2 separate regions of the Homo sapiens genome follow, and region 2 is linked to region 1. The links are contacts of gene promoters, found by promoter capture Hi-C in human tissues and cell types (Jung and others, 2019). All regions are on one chromosome and are shown on one strand. The core of a region is centred on a gene start or on the middle of the fragment in contact, and the rest is flanking DNA. Distances in the headings are between cores, read along the strand shown. Region 1 holds the start of CRH (corticotropin releasing hormone). Region 2 overlaps TRIM55 (tripartite motif containing 55).

Evidence for each region. Contacts are between HindIII fragments. The study calls those that stand out against the background at their distance.
Region 2: a fragment that was not itself captured here is called in contact with the fragment with the promoter of CRH in region 1 in 2 of the 25 tissues and cell types used here (heart right ventricle and thymus).

The regions. Positions count from the first base shown.
Region 1 is chr8:66,177,086-66,180,492 of GRCh38, reverse strand. CRH (corticotropin releasing hormone) reads left to right here and starts at 2,029. Exons shown (of 2, transcript NM_000756.4): 1 at 2,029-2,200; 2 at 3,002-3,407. The coding sequence starts at 3,016. LOC112268029 (a long non-coding RNA gene) reads left to right here. Exons shown (of 4, transcript XR_002956713.2): 4 at 533-607. RefSeq lists an enhancer at 3,074-3,143. The HindIII fragment of the contact is 9,798 bases long and covers 1-3,407 here.
Region 2 is chr8:66,128,729-66,132,064 of GRCh38, reverse strand. All of the region lies in intron 2 of TRIM55 (tripartite motif containing 55), which reads right to left. Among named protein-coding and RNA genes, the nearest start is that of TRIM55, 3.3 kb to the right of the region's middle. The HindIII fragment of the contact is 3,233 bases long and covers 101-3,333 here.

The DNA.
Region 1 (3,407 bases), core at 780-3,279:
GGAGAGAGATTTGTATGGGCATGGGTTTAGTCAGAGCCCAAAACTTGTTGTGTCTTCTCTGGAAGAACCTCCCAGACCTCCCCAGCTAAACTCATAACCACATCCCTTTCCTAGTTTATCTTCTGTGTCCATTTACTGCACTGAAACTTCCTATTCCAAGTCAACGTTTCACCTCCAGATTGACATCCAAGCTGAAATCTGCTAACAGGGTCAGAAAACAGTTCATAAAGGAAAGTAAGCAAAAATGTTGAACCCATTCCAGCTTAATAAAAAAAAAAAAAGCCCACAATAACAAAATCTAAGGTTCTGTGTGCTTTCCTACCAATATAAAACACAGCTTTCTCCCAGAAACTCAACCATTTTCCATAATCATGATCTTCTATTAACAACTCACATCTTTCCAAGTAGGCACATTCTCTCTGTTCTCTTATGTCAAAAGTACATAACATGGTGCAGTGATCCAACTATGGGCTGGCTTCTCTGCAAACTGTCAACATTTCTCTCCCTGCCTTCCCTTTGTTCCTAAGAGCAGTTGTGGATTGGTATAGACCCAAAATGGAAGTTGAAATATGCATTGCATCATTTGTCACATTAGCTACAAAGGAAGCAGCAGAAGTAATCAGAAATGAGGAGCAGGAAATTTCCGATAAACAACTCTGATGGTTATCTGGAAGCTGAATTGAATCACAGGCACAAGAACTTGGAATTGCATTTTGAATTGCAGAATTAGAGGTAACTGCCTCCCACCTATATGATAGTGTCAATTAATCAAAAATTGAATATAGTTTTACAGGCTTAGCATTCCATTCCATTCTGCGACATGTCAGAGAGCATTTATTTATTTAACAGGCTGACATGAAGCACATTTGGATTTGGAAAAAGAAATAATTAAAAAGAACCACCCTGGGTGGCCCAGATGTGGATACTATTATGGATGTTGATAGTATTTGGAGGTGAAATGAACGAGTTTTTTTTTACAGACTCAATATTGACCAATGAAAACATGTAACTAATGAATTTAGCCCTGTAGTCAAGCAGTTTAAGCCTTTTTCAACATAGATTAGGAAGTTAGAATGGATGCCTCTCATTGAGTTTGCATTCAGTAGAATAAGTAAAGCTTGTTTAACTCATGCATCTCTCACTGGCCGCCTCTCTCTTTAATTTGGGAATAGAAAAGGGAGTCCACAATTAATTTTAGATTGTGAGAAGAGAGACAAAAAAAGGAGCAGAGAGTTTCTGAGATAACCTAAAATCTTTGCCGCACCCCTTACTAACCCCGGTTTGTGCCCCTTCACTATGGGAGTAGCTCTTGTCATCATCTAAAAAACTTGAACTGCATTTTGAGAGATTTATTGGCCTTGCTTCTGCAGGCTCATAACTCCTTTATGTGCTTGCTCTTGGGAGGAAAAAGCAGATAGACGTTTAAAAGCTGGATGTTCCTGCACACCCCTCTCCTGATGCTTCATTCTTTTCCAGGCAGAAAGATGGTGGGACTCTGTCTCTAGCAAAGGGATATTTCCAGATACTGAGGTGTTGTCAGAGACACCTGGTCAGGGAGGTTAGGAGAAGGGGCATCCAGGTCCACCCCCTCCAACTGGCTGCTGCTTTCCTGGCAGGGCTGCACTGGGACACCTCACTTCCTTCCCACTTCCCCTTCCTCCTCCCATTCGCTGTCTCTTTGCACACCCCTAATATGGCCTTTCATAGTAAGAGGTCAATATGTTTTCACACTTGGGAAATCTCATTCAAGAATTTTTGTCAATGGACAAGTCATAAGAAGCCCTTCCATTTTAGGGCTCGTTGACGTCACCAAGAGGCGATAAATATCTGTTGATATAATTGGATGTGAGATTCAGTGTTGAGATAGCAAAATTCTGCCCCTCGTTCCTTGGCAGGGCCCTATGATTTATGCAGGAGCAGAGGCAGCACGCAATCGAGCTGTCAAGAGAGCGTCAGCTTATTAGGCAAATGCTGCGTGGTTTTTGAAGAGGGTCGACACTATAAAATCCCACTCCAGGCTCTGGAGTGGAGAAACTCAGAGACCAAGTCCATTGAGAGACTGAGGGGAAAGAGAGGAGAGAAAGAAAAAGAGAGTGGGAACAGTAAAGAGAAAGGAAGACAACCTCCAGAGAAAGCCCCCGGAGACGTCTCTCTGCAGAGAGGCGGCAGCACCCGGCTCACCTGCGAAGCGCCTGGGAAGGTAGGGAGCGCCTGGACGGAACACGCCACCAACTTTGCGTTGCCTGAGCTGCCGCGATGTGCGCCGCGGAGCCGGCTGCCCCTGCCTGTGTACGTGTGTATGCATGTGTGTGCGTGCGTGTGTGTGTGTGTATGCATGTGTGTATGCGTATGTGTGTGTGTGTATGCGCGCGTGCGTGCGTGTGTGTGTGCGCGCGTGTTCGCGGACTATTCCTTAAGATTACAATAGTAGCTGGGATGTGGCAAAAGCAAACTTAGACGGCTGCTCTTCGTTACCCGTGCTGCCAGTTGCTCCTTGCTGGCTGTGTAAAGGAGCTCCCCCACCCCCTTCTATCCTAACCCCCGAGATAAGGCAGCAAGGGCAGAAGTGGAGAGGGAGGACCATGAGGCAGTAGTTCTCAATTTGGAAGAAAATGCTGAAATATCCGGAAGGGAGGTAGTCAGCGCGGGTGGGATCTTAAATCTGTGGCTCTTCTCTAGGATCGGGAAAATTAGTTTTGAGGATCGTTAGGAAGAGGACGCAGGGACCGTCCTTTCAGAGTCTAGAAAGAAGGGTCACTCCTGGCCGGTGAGCGCATGAGCTTAGGTGCGGAGCCCTGCAGGCGCCCCCTTTCCCCGCTCCCCAGGCGCTTCAGCACCGCGGACAGCGCCCATCCGAATCACTGAGGCCAAAGCCCAGCACGTCTAAGGCAGTCCCGTAGGAAGACCCCGTGTGCACCTCCCAGCTGAGCGAACTCTAACCAACTCTTTCTTTCTCTCTTCCCCTCTCTCATTCCGCCCTCCGCCCACCTCTGTGCCGCAGCGAGTGCCCCTAACATGCGGCTGCCGCTGCTTGTGTCCGCGGGAGTCCTGCTGGTGGCTCTCCTGCCCTGCCCGCCATGCAGGGCGCTCCTGAGCCGCGGGCCGGTCCCGGGAGCTCGGCAGGCGCCGCAGCACCCTCAGCCCTTGGATTTCTTCCAGCCGCCGCCGCAGTCCGAGCAGCCCCAGCAGCCGCAGGCTCGGCCGGTCCTGCTCCGCATGGGAGAGGAGTACTTCCTCCGCCTGGGGAACCTCAACAAGAGCCCGGCCGCTCCCCTTTCGCCCGCCTCCTCGCTCCTCGCCGGAGGCAGCGGCAGCCGCCCTTCGCCGGAACAGGCGACCGCCAACTTTTTCCGCGTGTTGCTGCAGCAGCTGCTGCTGCCTCGGCGCTCGCTCGACAGCCCCGCGGC
Region 2 (3,336 bases), core at 468-2,967, 48 kb after region 1:
AAATATCAGATTAAGGGTCTTCTAATTAAATGTGGCAGAATGAACACAAGCATGTATTTATTTATGTATTTATATATGTATGTATGTATTTATGTATTTATTCTGCTGAAATCCCAGTGAAATGAGGATAAGGAAATAAAAGGGCATAAATCAATAAGGACAAAAAGTGAGCACAGATGACAGCAGATGAGAGATGTCAACCAAATGTTGGAAATTAGGAACATCTGGATGAAGGGACATGACCTACTTGAGTTGCATCTTAGTTCTGTTACATTCCTGCAGTGAGAAGCTTACAATAAGCAAGCTGACTTGAGCTATGGAACCCTGGAAAGGCTCTGGAACTGCAGGAGCCAGTAGTCCTGAAGGTGGAAGTAGGCGGTGACAGACTGGGAGAGGCTGAAAAGAGGAGGACTTTGTGCATGTTTTAAGAGATTACTTGAGGATGTGCTCCATAGAAATAAGAGAGTAAGCCACCAAACAAGGAGACCTGGAATCCAGGGAGCAAGGGGTTCAACCCAGGGGGAGAGTAAAAGAATTCCCAAGTAGAGGTAAAGCCCAGCCATGTGAGGGCTCAGTCCTAATTGTCTACAGTGGAAAGTCAATAGAAAATGTCTAAAATTGAAAAATCAAAGAATAGGAGCATACCAGTAGTATGCACATGTCATTGGTGATAAATAGCAGAAAAACAGCTAAAAGAATTAAAAGTGGTTGACTCTGGGGAATGAGGCTTGGGGGTGGGTAAAGAGAGAACAGAGTGGAGACTGCATTTCTCTTCAGAGGCCCAGTAGTAATGAATTCTAAAAGTTGTGTATGTTGATTACTTTAAGGCACTAAAAGCTTTAATAGGGTAGCAGTAATTATAATAATCAACACCTCACCGGATTATTGTGAGAATTAAAGAATTGCACATGATTCATGTGTTAGGCACCCTGAACAGTGTCTGGCATGCAGCACATAGTAGTTTTACTTGTTATATTTTAAAGTTAATTATTATTATATTAATTATTAATATTAGCCAAAATAGTACCTTCTCTTACCATCTCCCACTCCCAACTGTGGCTAGTCTGGCACCATGCAGAATTCTGGATAAGAATGCCAAGTTTTGGCTGGGCGCAGTGGCTCATGCCTGTAATCCTAGCACTTTGGGAAGCCGAGGCGGGTGGATCAAGAGGTCAGGAGATCGAGACTATCCTGGCTAACACGGTGAAACCCCATCTCTACTAAAAATACAAAAAAATTAGCTGGGCGTGGTGGCAGGTGCCTGTAGTCCCAGCTACTTGGGAGGCTGAGACAGGAGAATGGCGTGAACCTGGGAGGCAGAGCTTGTAGTGAGCCAAGATCACGCCACTGCACTCCAGCCTGGGAAACAAAGCAAAACTCCATCTCAAAAAAAAAAAAAAAAAAAGAATGCTAGGTTTTGTGGAGACTTACAGTCTCCAGCCTTTCTGGAGGAGGTCAGAGTTGACTGACAACATCCCAGTCTGTGATTGGTCACCCCCCCCGACCCCCTTCCAATAGCCACAGCTGAACTCTTTTCATTCTGTATATCCAAGGTCATTCCAGTGTTACCTAATGTACCCTGAGGCTCAAGATTCTGGTCTAGTAAGGCTGTCTGCCCCCAGGGGACAACTGCGTTTCCTCCCAGACATGTGGCCAAGTGCTCTGTGCAACTTGTGGTTTTGCTACCAAGTAAAATTGTCCCACAGGAAAGTCTCAAGTTCAAGAAAAAACAGCATAACAAAATCACAGAAAATCACAAAAGCATCCCTAGTTCACTCAACTATGAGCTTTATTGTTGGAAATTTGGTTCATTGCTTTTACGCAATTTACTTCCCAGGCCTGGGTACTATTTTTGGCAGCTGCACCAAGCCAACTTCATAGCTAAGGTGAAGATGTGTTTTGTAGTTTTACCAATACTGCAAGTTTTAACATCTCTTCTCTGGATTTCATAACAAGTATTGCTATTTTTTCATGTCTCAAGTTCCCACTGTGACAAGTAACAAAACATAAATTTATTGCAATAAATAGAACATGAAAGAATATTTGTGGTGTTGCTTAATCAGCTGGGATTTATGGGGCAACTATTCTGTGCAAAGCACTGTACTAGCTCTGAAACTTGTTACGTAAGAATATTTGTGGTATTGCTTAATCAGCTGGGATTTATGGAGCAACTATTCTGTGCAAGACACTGGACTAGCACTGAAACTCTTGTTATATAAACTCTCTTAATATTAGGTTGGTGGCAAAGTAATTGCTGTTTTGGCCATGAAAAGTAATTGCAAAAATCGCAATTACTTTTGCATCAATCTCATAATTAATTGGTTTTTAATTGGCTGGTTAAGTTTTTAAGAGACAAGTGTGTATTTGTATTTTAAAGTAGTGAAATACAATGAGATCAAATCTGTAAAGTAACAGCAACAGCAATAGTACTTTTGTTCTTGTCAAGAGACTTTGGAAGCAAGGGAAACAGCCAGCTGCAATCTCTGCAATATGTCATCAGCAATTCTTCCCCAAACCCATCTAGATCCTGGTACTGTCTAATTTAGTTTTGGATCTTTAGCGGAAATTAATAGCTATAATAATTATAATAATTATGTTAGATTTATAGAACAGCTTTCCTTCCAAGAGCACAAGCCTCTTAGAGCTCTGCAGATGTTCCATAAATACGTGTCCCCTAATGGAATCACAATGAGGCCATTTCTAGATGGTCTCAATATTGCTATCAAGCTTTGTGGACTGGACTGACCTGCACACAATTGAAAAGGGGCTCTTCACACCGTGCCTTCTAGGAATAAGCTTCCCGCAGCATTGTGTCTAGGAAAGGAATTCTATAGCCAATGTGGTTTGGTGAATAAGAAGCCTTTTTTGTTATTTTTTAAAAATGAATGGATAGATATATAATGCTATCACGATGTTATTCACAATCAACAAGTGAATGCTGACTATGCAGTAAATACAGTATAAGGAATAGGGAAACATAACCTGAATTTCACCCTTTTTTTTCCTCATGGCTCTGAAGTTTAAGTCCCTAAAGGCCAGGGTTTTGCCTTGCTTTGTGACTTCCCTTAGAGTAAATACAGTGACAACCTATGTTAGAGGATTTTGTTTTTATTATCATCCAAACAATTTTAAGGCAAGACTGTCTGAACTAGGAACTGGGCTACTTCGGAAGATGCCATTTCTATTAATTTTCTATTAAGTATTTACTAGATTTTTTTTTCTTTGCTTTGTAGGGATCTGGAGCTACAAAGTGCCTGTGAAGTGCAAAATGTGTAAAATGGATGTAATACCAGGCTTTAAGGTGGAGGGGGACAGCAGTATGTCTCTTTCAGCATC